2 separate regions of the Homo sapiens genome follow, and region 1 is linked to region 2. The links are contacts of gene promoters, found by promoter capture Hi-C in human tissues and cell types (Jung and others, 2019). All regions are on one chromosome and are shown on one strand. Each heading gives the region's core, a stretch centred on a gene start or on the middle of the fragment in contact. The rest is flanking DNA. Distances are from core to core; before and after follow the strand shown.

What was found. Contacts are between HindIII fragments. The study calls those that stand out against the background at their distance.
Region 1: a contact is called between a fragment that was not itself captured here and the fragment with the promoter of FTMT in region 2, in 1 of the 25 tissues and cell types used here (adrenal gland).

What each region holds. Positions count from the first base shown.
Region 1 is chr5:121,890,314-121,894,988 of GRCh38, reverse strand. No RefSeq gene overlaps it. Among named protein-coding and RNA genes, the nearest start is that of FTMT, 41 kb to the right of the region's middle. The HindIII fragment of the contact is 5,740 bases long and covers 1-4,675 here.
Region 2 is chr5:121,848,173-121,853,161 of GRCh38, reverse strand. FTMT (ferritin mitochondrial) reads right to left here and starts at 1,280. Exons shown (of 1, transcript NM_177478.2): 1 at 329-1,280. The coding sequence starts at 1,198. The coding sequence ends at 470. All of the region lies in intron 3 of LOC105379149 (a long non-coding RNA gene), which reads right to left. The HindIII fragment of the contact is 10,616 bases long and covers 1-4,989 here.

The DNA of each region.
Region 1 (4,675 bases), core at 1,439-3,938, 40 kb before region 2:
GGTTGGTTCTGAGTCTTTGCTATTGTGAAAAGTGCTGCAATAAACATACACGTGCATGTGTCTTTATAGTAGAATGATTTATAATTCTTTGGGTATATACCCAGTAATGGGATTGCTGGGTCAAATGTTATTTCTGGTTCTAGATCCTTGAGGAATTGCCACAATGTCTTCCACAGTGGTTGAATTAGTGTACAATCCCACCAACAGTGTAAAAGTGTTCCTATGTCTCCACATCCTCTCCAGTATCTGTAGTTTCCTAACCTTTTTTTTGGGGTGAGGAGGTAGATCAACCATTGTCAAATTTTTTTATAGCCCATGAAATGCTCTTGAAAGGATCTAAGGGCCGCAAACTTTCTTTCTTTCTTTTTTTTTAAATTATACTTTAAGTTCTGGGGTACATGTGCAGAATGTGCAGTTTTGTTACATAGGTATACATACATGTGCCGTGGTGGTTTGCTGCACCCTCAACCTATCATCTACGTTAGGTATTTCTCCCAATGTTATCCCTCCCCTAGCCCCCCACCCCACAAAGGCCCCAGTGTATGATGTTCCCCTCCCTGTGTCCATGTGTTCTCATTGTTCAGCTCCCACTTATGAGTGAGAACATGCGGTGTTTGGTTTTCTGATCTTGTGATAGTTTGCTGAGACTGATGGTTTCCATCTTCACCCATGTCCCTGCAAAGGACATGAACTCATCCTTCTTTATGGCTGCATAGTATTCTATGGTGTACATGTGCCACATTTTTTTAATCCAGTCTATCATTGATGGACATTTGGGTTGGTTCCAAGTCTTTGCTATTGTGAATAGTGCCACAATAAACACATGTGTGCATGTATCTTTATCATAGAATGATTTATAATCCCTTGGGTATATGCCCAGTAGTGGGATTGCTGTCAAATGGTATTTCTGGTTCTAGATCCTTGAGGAATTGCCACACTGTCTTACACAATGGTTGAACTAATTTACACTCCCACCAACAGTGTAGAAGCATTCCTATTTTTCCATAACCTCTCCAGCATCTGTTTTTTCCTAATTCTACTAATTTTTGAACATCTATTTTGTATCCTGAATCTTTACTAAAATTGTTTATCAGTTCTAGAAGCCTTTTAGTGGAGTCTTTAGGATTCTCTCAGCATAGAATTATATTATCAGCAAAGAGAGTTTGAATTCTTCTTTTCCAATTTGGATGCCTTTTATTTCTTTTTCTTGCCTGACTGCTCTGGCTAGGACTTCCAGTACTATACTGAGTATTAGTGATGAGAGAGGCATCCTTCTCTTGTTCTATTTCTCAAGGGGAGTGGTTCCAGCTTTTGCCAGTTCAGTATGATACTGGCTGTGGGTTTATCATAGATGGCCCTTATTATTTTGCAGTATGTTCTTTGATGCCTAGTTTGTTGAAGATTGTTGTCATGAAGAGATGTCGGATTTTATTGAAAGCTTTTTCTGAATCTGTTGAAATGGCCTTATGGTTTTGTTTTTAATTGTGTTTATGTTGTAAATCACATTTGTTGATTTGTGTCTAATGAACCAGTCTTGCATCCCATGAATAAAGCCTACTTTATTGTGGTGTATTAACCTATTCATGTACTTCTGGATTCCATTTTTTGGTATTTTGTTCAGGATTTTTGCATCTATGTTCATCATGTATATCACCCTGAAGTTTCTTTTTTCGTTGTGTCTCTGCCCAATGTTGGTATTAGGCTGATGCTGCGATCATAAAATGAGTTAGGGAGGAGGAACTTCTCAATTTTTTCAAATAGTTTTGTAGGATTTGTATGAGTTCTTCTTTGTACATCTGGTGGAATTTGTCTGTGATTCCATCTGGTCTAGGGCTTTTTTGGTCAGTAGAATTTTTATTACTGATTCAATTTCAGAGCCTGATATTGGTCTATTTTAGGGTTTCAATCTCTTCCTGACTCAACCCTGGGAGATTGCATTTCTAGAAATGCATCCATTTCTTTTAGATTTTGTAATTCGTGTTCATAGCATTTTTTGAGAATCTTTTGTTTTTCAGTAGAATCAGTTGTAATGTCATATTTGTCTTTCTGAGTGTACTTATTTGTATGTTCTCTCTTTTTTTGTTAATCTAGCTAGCAATATATCACTCTTGTTTATTTTTTCAGAGAACCAACTCTTGGTTTCACTGATTTTTCGTATAGATTTTTGCATCTCAATTTCATTCAGTTCTTCTCTGGTTTTAGTTATTTTTTTTCTCTTCTGCTAGCTTTGGGGTTGAGTTTTTTCCCCCTAATTCCTTTAGGTGCGAAGTTAGCATGTTAAATTGAGATCTAACTTTTTGATGAAGGCATTTAGTGCTATACATATCCTCTTAACATTGCTTTAGCTGCCTCCCAGAGGTTCTGGTACATTGTGTCCGTAATTTTATTGATTTCAAAGAACGTTTTCTTGATTTCTGCCTTAAATTTGATGTTCTCCTATAAGTTATTCAGGAGTAAGTTGATTAATTTCCATGAATTTCTGTAGTTTTGAGAAATATACTTGGTATTGATTTCTGTGGTTGCTGAGTGGAGTGTTCTGTAGATGTTTATTAGTTCAATTTAGCCACATGTCAAGTTTAAGTGCAGAATTTCTTTGTTACTTTTCTGCCTCAATGATCTGTCTAATGCTGTCAGTGGTGTTTTAAAGTCTTCCACTATGATTGGGTCATTGTCTAAGTCTTTTTGGAGGCCAAGAAAAACTTGTTTTATAAATTGGCTGCTCCAATGTTGAGGGTATATATATATATATATATATATATATATATATATATATATATATATGTATATATATATGATAGTTAAGTCTTCTTGTTGGATTGTACCCTCTAGTATTATGTGATGTCTTTCTTTGTTCTTAATTTTTATTTATTTAAAATCATTTTATCTGATATAAGAATAGTGAATCCCATTTTTTTTTCCTGTTTGCATGCTAAATCTTACTCCATCAATTTACTTTGAGCTTTTGGGTGTCGTTACAACATGTGAGACATATTACCCAATTTCTTACATCATTGGTTCAGTAATTTATTCTTTTTTTCCATTGTCTTTCAGGTTTTGAGCATATTCAACTTGAAAAGTAGGTTACTGTTGATGATTTCCCAGGTTTCATTAACATCTTCAACAATCTACCAAGTCTTAATTAATGGGGAGTAGCATGTTAAACATTGGCCATTTATCTAAACACTGTCTCTGAATTTGAACTAACATAACTATTTTTAGATTCTTTTACCTATTTGTTACCCTTCCCGATTGTTCAATTGATATTATTCACTTATTAAGGCAAATATTGGCAACTGTAAGAGTAAAATCTTGTTATCATGTGTAGGCTTTAATGCTGATTTGAAAGTTACAGTCATTTTTATGGCATCTACTCAAATAACACTTCTTCTTGTAATGTAATGATTTTTGACACTTTTCTTTGACAGACAGCCCAAAATATTTTCAGTTTATCTAATTTATGTCTAATAAAAATCTACTCATGCCTCTGTGGGTGGACACAGCCAAAGCATGAAATAGTGCTGAGCATCAGCACCGCTTCTTCTGTTAATGAAGTTTCTGGAGAAAAACTTGACTCAAACAGCAGGGGCTGAGTTCCTTTTCTTGTCTGTTTTGCAGCCTACTAAGCCATTTTTATTGCTACACTTTAAATTTAGTCAAAAGGTTAAACATTTATTTATCTCGACATGTATTATAAGCAGTTTTTTCACTGTGGGGCATTTTACATGATTATTATTAAATTTAAACTTTCTCAATCTTGTGTATTTGGTCCAGGAGATGTTTTATTCCAGTGATTGTAACAGAGGCAGGAGGCAGAAAAATCCCAGGCAGACCAGCGTGGGTCCCCATTGAAACCCCACCTTCAATCCACAAACAGTCCCACAGACCAGAGTGAGAACTTCTATTTATGTTTGCCCACTCTCACTCAATTGATTTTCTGAATAATGCCTTTTAACCAATCGAATGCTGCCTTTTCAATACTACTTACAGCCCACCCTGTACCCATCCTGTGCCTGTAAAGACCCCAGACTCAGTTGGTAGAAGGGAAGTGGCCTGACTTTGGGGAGGAGATGTGCTGACTTTGGGGACGAGATCTCCTGACTTCGGGGAAAGACGACCTGCCCTTCCCATCCCCTCCCCAGGTCCCCTCTCTACTGAGAGCTGTTTTCGTTGCTCAATAAAATTCTCCACCCTCACCATCCTCAGGCGTCAAGTGTGACCTCATTCTTCTTGGATGCTGGACAAAAGCTTGAGACTCACTGAGTGTGGGTACCCAGAAAGGCTGTCACACTGGTTCTTTGCTCTCACCAGAGGAGGGCAGCTGCTCCACATGATGGGACCAGTGGGAGACTGAGCTGCTAACATGCTACCATCCATCGGGCTGTGGACAGTGGAGCTAAAAGAGCTAATTAGCGCACTAACATCCCCTCTGGGGCTTCCAGGTCATAGGCACCCTTGCCTGGGTGCGACTGTGTTCCTCTTTAGGTGACACGCAGCTTGGTCTGGCTGCAGGCCCCGCACAGACCTTGCTGCTATGTCGATGGAGTGGCCAGCCAGATCCCGCACTCACTTGTTCCTGTGCTCCTTCCCACAAGAGGCTAAGCATGGCAGGCCGAGTAGACAGGGTACCCTTGATGGAAGTCTGGCAAAGGGGCCAAGAAAAATCCTGAATCAATTG
Region 2 (4,989 bases), core at 31-2,530:
CTGTCATAGCATTTTTGCATGTATAATTTTCACAGTACTAAATATTCTTCACTTATAGTTATTTGTATATTTTTATCCATTTTCCCACTTTAGCGTTTTGCATAAGGTATTGAATATGGCAGGCACTTGTTGAATTAAAAATCACAGAATTTAAGTGTAGGTTCATATTCTGATAATACTTGGCAACTGGAGAACGTTAGTTTGCACCCTCTTTCAGTAGCTTTTTGGAGTCTTTTTCTATACCATAGTTACCTGTGCTATCTTCGAGCCTGGGAAAATAACTGCCTTGATGGTTAGTAAAAAGCCCTTGTTAAACATGGGCAAAACATTTTTTTCTACAAATCACTTTATTGGAGGAATAGTATAACAGAAGAATATAAAGATGGAGGTGATTTTAAGGGCAAGAAAGCAGGAGACAGCTGACTTTGGTCTTTGGATCCACTAGCCTGGGAGGAAGGCAGCTCGTGGCTTAGTTCTGCTTGTTTTCATTTCCAAGGGTATGTGTGTCAAAAAGGTACTCCGCCAGGCCAGCATCCGGGGCCCCCATCTTCACTAAGTTGTGCACGTGGTCACCTAGTTCTTTGATAGACTTCACCTGCTCATTCAGGTAGTAGGTTTCCAGGAAATCGCACAAATGGGGGTCACCTTTATCTGAGGCTAGAGCGTGCAATTCCAGCAACGACTGGTTCACGTTCTTTTCCAAGAGTAGAGCACACTCCATGGCATGCAGCCCGCTTTCCCAGTCGTCCTGTTCCGGCTTCTTGATGTCCTGCAGGCGGATCCGGCCTCCTCGCTGGTTCTGCAGCCTCATCAGCTTCTCCGCGTGCTCGGTCTCCTCCCGGGACTGGTGAAGGAAATACCTGGAGAAGTTGTTCAAGGCCACGTCATCCCGGGAGAAGTAATAGGCCATGGACAAGTACACGTAGGACGCATAGAGCTCGAGGTTGATCTGGCGGTTGATGGCAGCCTCGGAGTCGGGGTGGAAGTTCTGGCGCACCCGAGAGGGGCCGGCGGCGGGCCCGGTAGGGTCCCGGGAGGAGGCGGCTGCGGCCAGGGGGCGGCGGGGGGCGATCTGCCTGGGGTCCAAGGGGCGCCCCGGGGCCCAACGCAGCGGGAGCGCGAAGCAGCAGCGCACCGGGCGCAGAGACGCCAGCGAAGGGCTGATGTGCCTGGAGAGGAGCCTGAAGCAGGACAGCATAGCGCCGCCTCCTTGGAAGTGGGGAAACTGAGGCCCGGCCCTCTTGGCGTGGGGTCGGGCGCTGGAGGCGTCAGATCTGATCAGAACGTGGCCCTAGGCAACGGTGACTGCGTCACACGCCCCTTCTGTTCCAGAGGCGCGGGGTTCCACGCGGAGGGCGCTGGGGAAGCGCCGCCGGGGGCTCTGGGGACCCGCGTGGGGCGCAGTCTAGGCGGAGGCCAGCGCAGATGCCCAGTCACGATTCCGTGAGCATTCGCCCCCACCGACGACGTGAGATTTCTGCTCTTTGGCGATTGTCACTGATTTCACCTGCGTTAAAAAGGCTGTCAGGAGAGTAGGCCCTGGGACTTCCCAAAGAAGGGACCAAGCTGTACTCCCCCTTCTTCTCTGACCTTTTCATAAGGACCAAGAGTTGGACTGGCAACACAGTGAAAAGGGTGAACCAAAAGTCACCAATTTACCTGTGAGAATAAAGGTCCACATCCAAAGCAAGTGTACATAAATTAACTGGTTATTTAACATGTAAGTGTGGAAACAATTGCCAGCATAGTGGGAAAATTTTTAAGACTCTGTTTCTTTTAAAATACATGCATAGTTTATTTTTAAACATAAAATGTATCTTCATTGTAAAGAAATGAGATACTGTAGGCCGGGTGCCGTGGCTCACGCCTTTGGGAGGCCGAGGCGGGCGGATCACAAGGTTAGGAGATCGAGACTATCCTGGCTAACACGGTGAAACCCCGTCTCTACTAAAAACACAAAAAATTAGCCGGGCGTGGTGGCAGGCTGCTGTAGTCCCAGCTACTTGGAAGGCTGAGGCAGGAGAATGGCGTGAACCCGGGGGGCGGAGCTTGCAGTGAGCCGAGATCGAGCCACTGCACTCCAGCCTGGGCGACAGAGCAAGACTCCGTCTCAAAAAAAAAAAAAAAAAGAAAAAAGAAAGAAAGAATGAGAAATGAGATACCGTAGAAACCCTAGGAGGAATAAAATGCCTCTGAACTCAAAATATGTTACTTTCCCATCTTTTCTTAGTGCAGAGATTATATCCTCTTAAAATAGCTCTTTAAAAATTAAACTTTAAATAGCATTTAGTGTTAAAATAGTATTTATGTAATTGTTGCAGGGTACTGAAGAAAAAAGGGTAAGCACGCAGAAGAAAGTTCAAAACAACCCTAATTCGTCTTCTGCCGAGATTACTATTGTTAAAATGTTGATGGTAATGCTCAGAGGTTTAAAAAAATGAAAAACGTGTATTACAGACCCACAAAAGCGAATACAGACATATAAAACAGCTTTATATAGAGATATATAATTGACATACAATAAACTGCAGTTGCGGATAGTTCATGTGAATAGAGTCAACAGTATGTGCTCCTTTTTACTTGCTTTCTTTTAGTCAGTGTAATTATTTTAGGTTCCATCCACACTGTATCTTGTTTCAGTAGTTCCTTTTATTGCTGAGTAGTATTCCATTGTATGGATATACCACAATTCGTTTATCCTTTCATCTGATGATGGACATTTTTGTTGTTATAGTTTTTGGCTATTAAAATGAAGTCGTTATAGACATTCCTGTACAAGTCTTTCTGTGGTCAGATGCTCTCATTTCTCTTGATAAAATACCTTGTAGGAAAAGCCGGATTACATGATAGGTATATGTTTACTTTTTAAAGAAATTTCCAAACTGTTTTCCAAGGTGATTATGGCATTTTACATTCCCATCAGCAGAGTGTTAAGAGTTCAAGTTCCTTCACATTTTATGCTTACACATGGTATTGTCAGTCATTTAATTTTAATTAAAATTTAAAAATTTCTAATGACTGTGTGCTGGTGTTTCAATGTGTTTTTAATTTGCATTGAAGTATGTTTGCACCTGCCTTCTGTCAACCACATATTCTTGGTGAAGTGTATATTCAAATCTTTGTCCATTCATATATTGAGCTATTTGTTTTTGTTATGGTTGTTTGATTCTTATGGTTATTATCTGTCTTTGATATTAGCACTGCTTCTGTTTAGGTCTTCTTTATGTTATCTGTATATTACTGTGTCTATATTACTTTCCCTTATCTCCTTGGTCAGCTCAGATTATCTTTCTAGGTTAGTTGCCTTAGTTGTGAATTGAGAAAACTATTTACCTCCCATGGGTGGTTGAAAGAATTAAATAAGAGAATGCATACAGAGCATTTATCACAGTGCTTGACACAGGATAAGCACTTGGAATGCCCTTTAGTAGTTTTTATTGGATAATTCCTGTTTAATTATTCAAAATTAATTATCTTAATTATTCAGTAAGCAAGTATTATTGTTATTGAATATGAAAAGACCTTTACAGCTTACAAAGGATGTTTACAGATATTATATTGTTGCTATAATATATGGGTAGTGAGGTGAAAATTCTTGTATTATATGGGAGTGTCAAACTTGTAGTTTACTAGTAAGCTCCCTGCTCTCATATAGCTTCTTAAAAGCTATATTACATTATATTATTTCCCTGTAAATAAAAGGGATGCTTAAGATCTAGTTGCACTTAAACTTTGCTATTAGAAGGTGATTGATATTCACCAGGTAATTTCTCACTAGTTTTCACTTCAACACACCCATCTTTAATTTTATTTTCCCCCAAATTTTTCTCTTCCTAAAATATAGTACCCTAAAGAGAGGTTATGAAAATGATTGTTTAGAGTAGTATTAAATGTTGACTGCTGCTACTAGCGTTTTAGGAAAATTGATGCTCTTCATATAAATGTTTATCCCCTAAGTAATAAAATGCATAGATATAAAACAAATGTAATACATGAAATGTAATGCAGAAATGCCATTAAACACAATACACATTGAAATATTATGTTAATTTGTCAAAAATATTTCTTCTTCATATTACAAAACTTGTCATATAATTTGCTAGACTTTGAAAATGCAAGGATGTGGTAGGTCTTATGTTTATCTTCTGGGCATTTTGATTTCTAGTATTTATAGTAAAATTAATGTTCTAAAAAAATACAAACCGAGATCATTGCCCACCACTCTTCACAACTCATTTCTTTCTTAGTTGTAATGTCTTCGCTTCCTCTAAAACACCCTAAGCTTTCAGGCTTCTCTGGATTTCTCTCTGCTTCTTCACTTTCTTTTCCTCGCAGCTAGAACTCATCTTTCCAACCTCCTTTCACTGTTTCATCAAATATATTACCTTTTCTGTAAAGTCTTATATAGCATCATTCAGAATTAATCATTACTTTGTATTTGGTTAAGTATTTTGCTTATATCAAGAGCATATTGTATTATGTTATAATTCCTTGTATATTCATGTGTGTATGTATATGTCCTTAAGGGCAGAGCCTACTATTTATTCATTTTTAAATCCCCAGGCCTCAGCCTACAGCTTGACACATATTAAAAAATAAACACATATAAATGCTTTAAAATGTCCAAATATATTGGAATAGAAATTCTTATTTCATACAGTATACCAGTTTAGCCTAATACATTTTCATAAAGTATATCGGGAGACATCTTCACTTTAATTTAAATTACTTGAGGCTTTGCAGAAAATCTCTGTACTTGGTGGTTTCAGTCTCCAAAGGAATAACAATATTCACTCATTTCTCCTTTATAGATATATTAGACAATCATTGATGATATATGTGAAAATGCTTTGCCAATGGGAAATTAACTATATGAATGTGGATTTTTTTATTAAGCCATGTTTTGATTTATGTAATATATAGATCACATTTTATTATATTATTTACTTGAAAGCACTTTATTTTAAACACTAAACATTTTTTAGAATT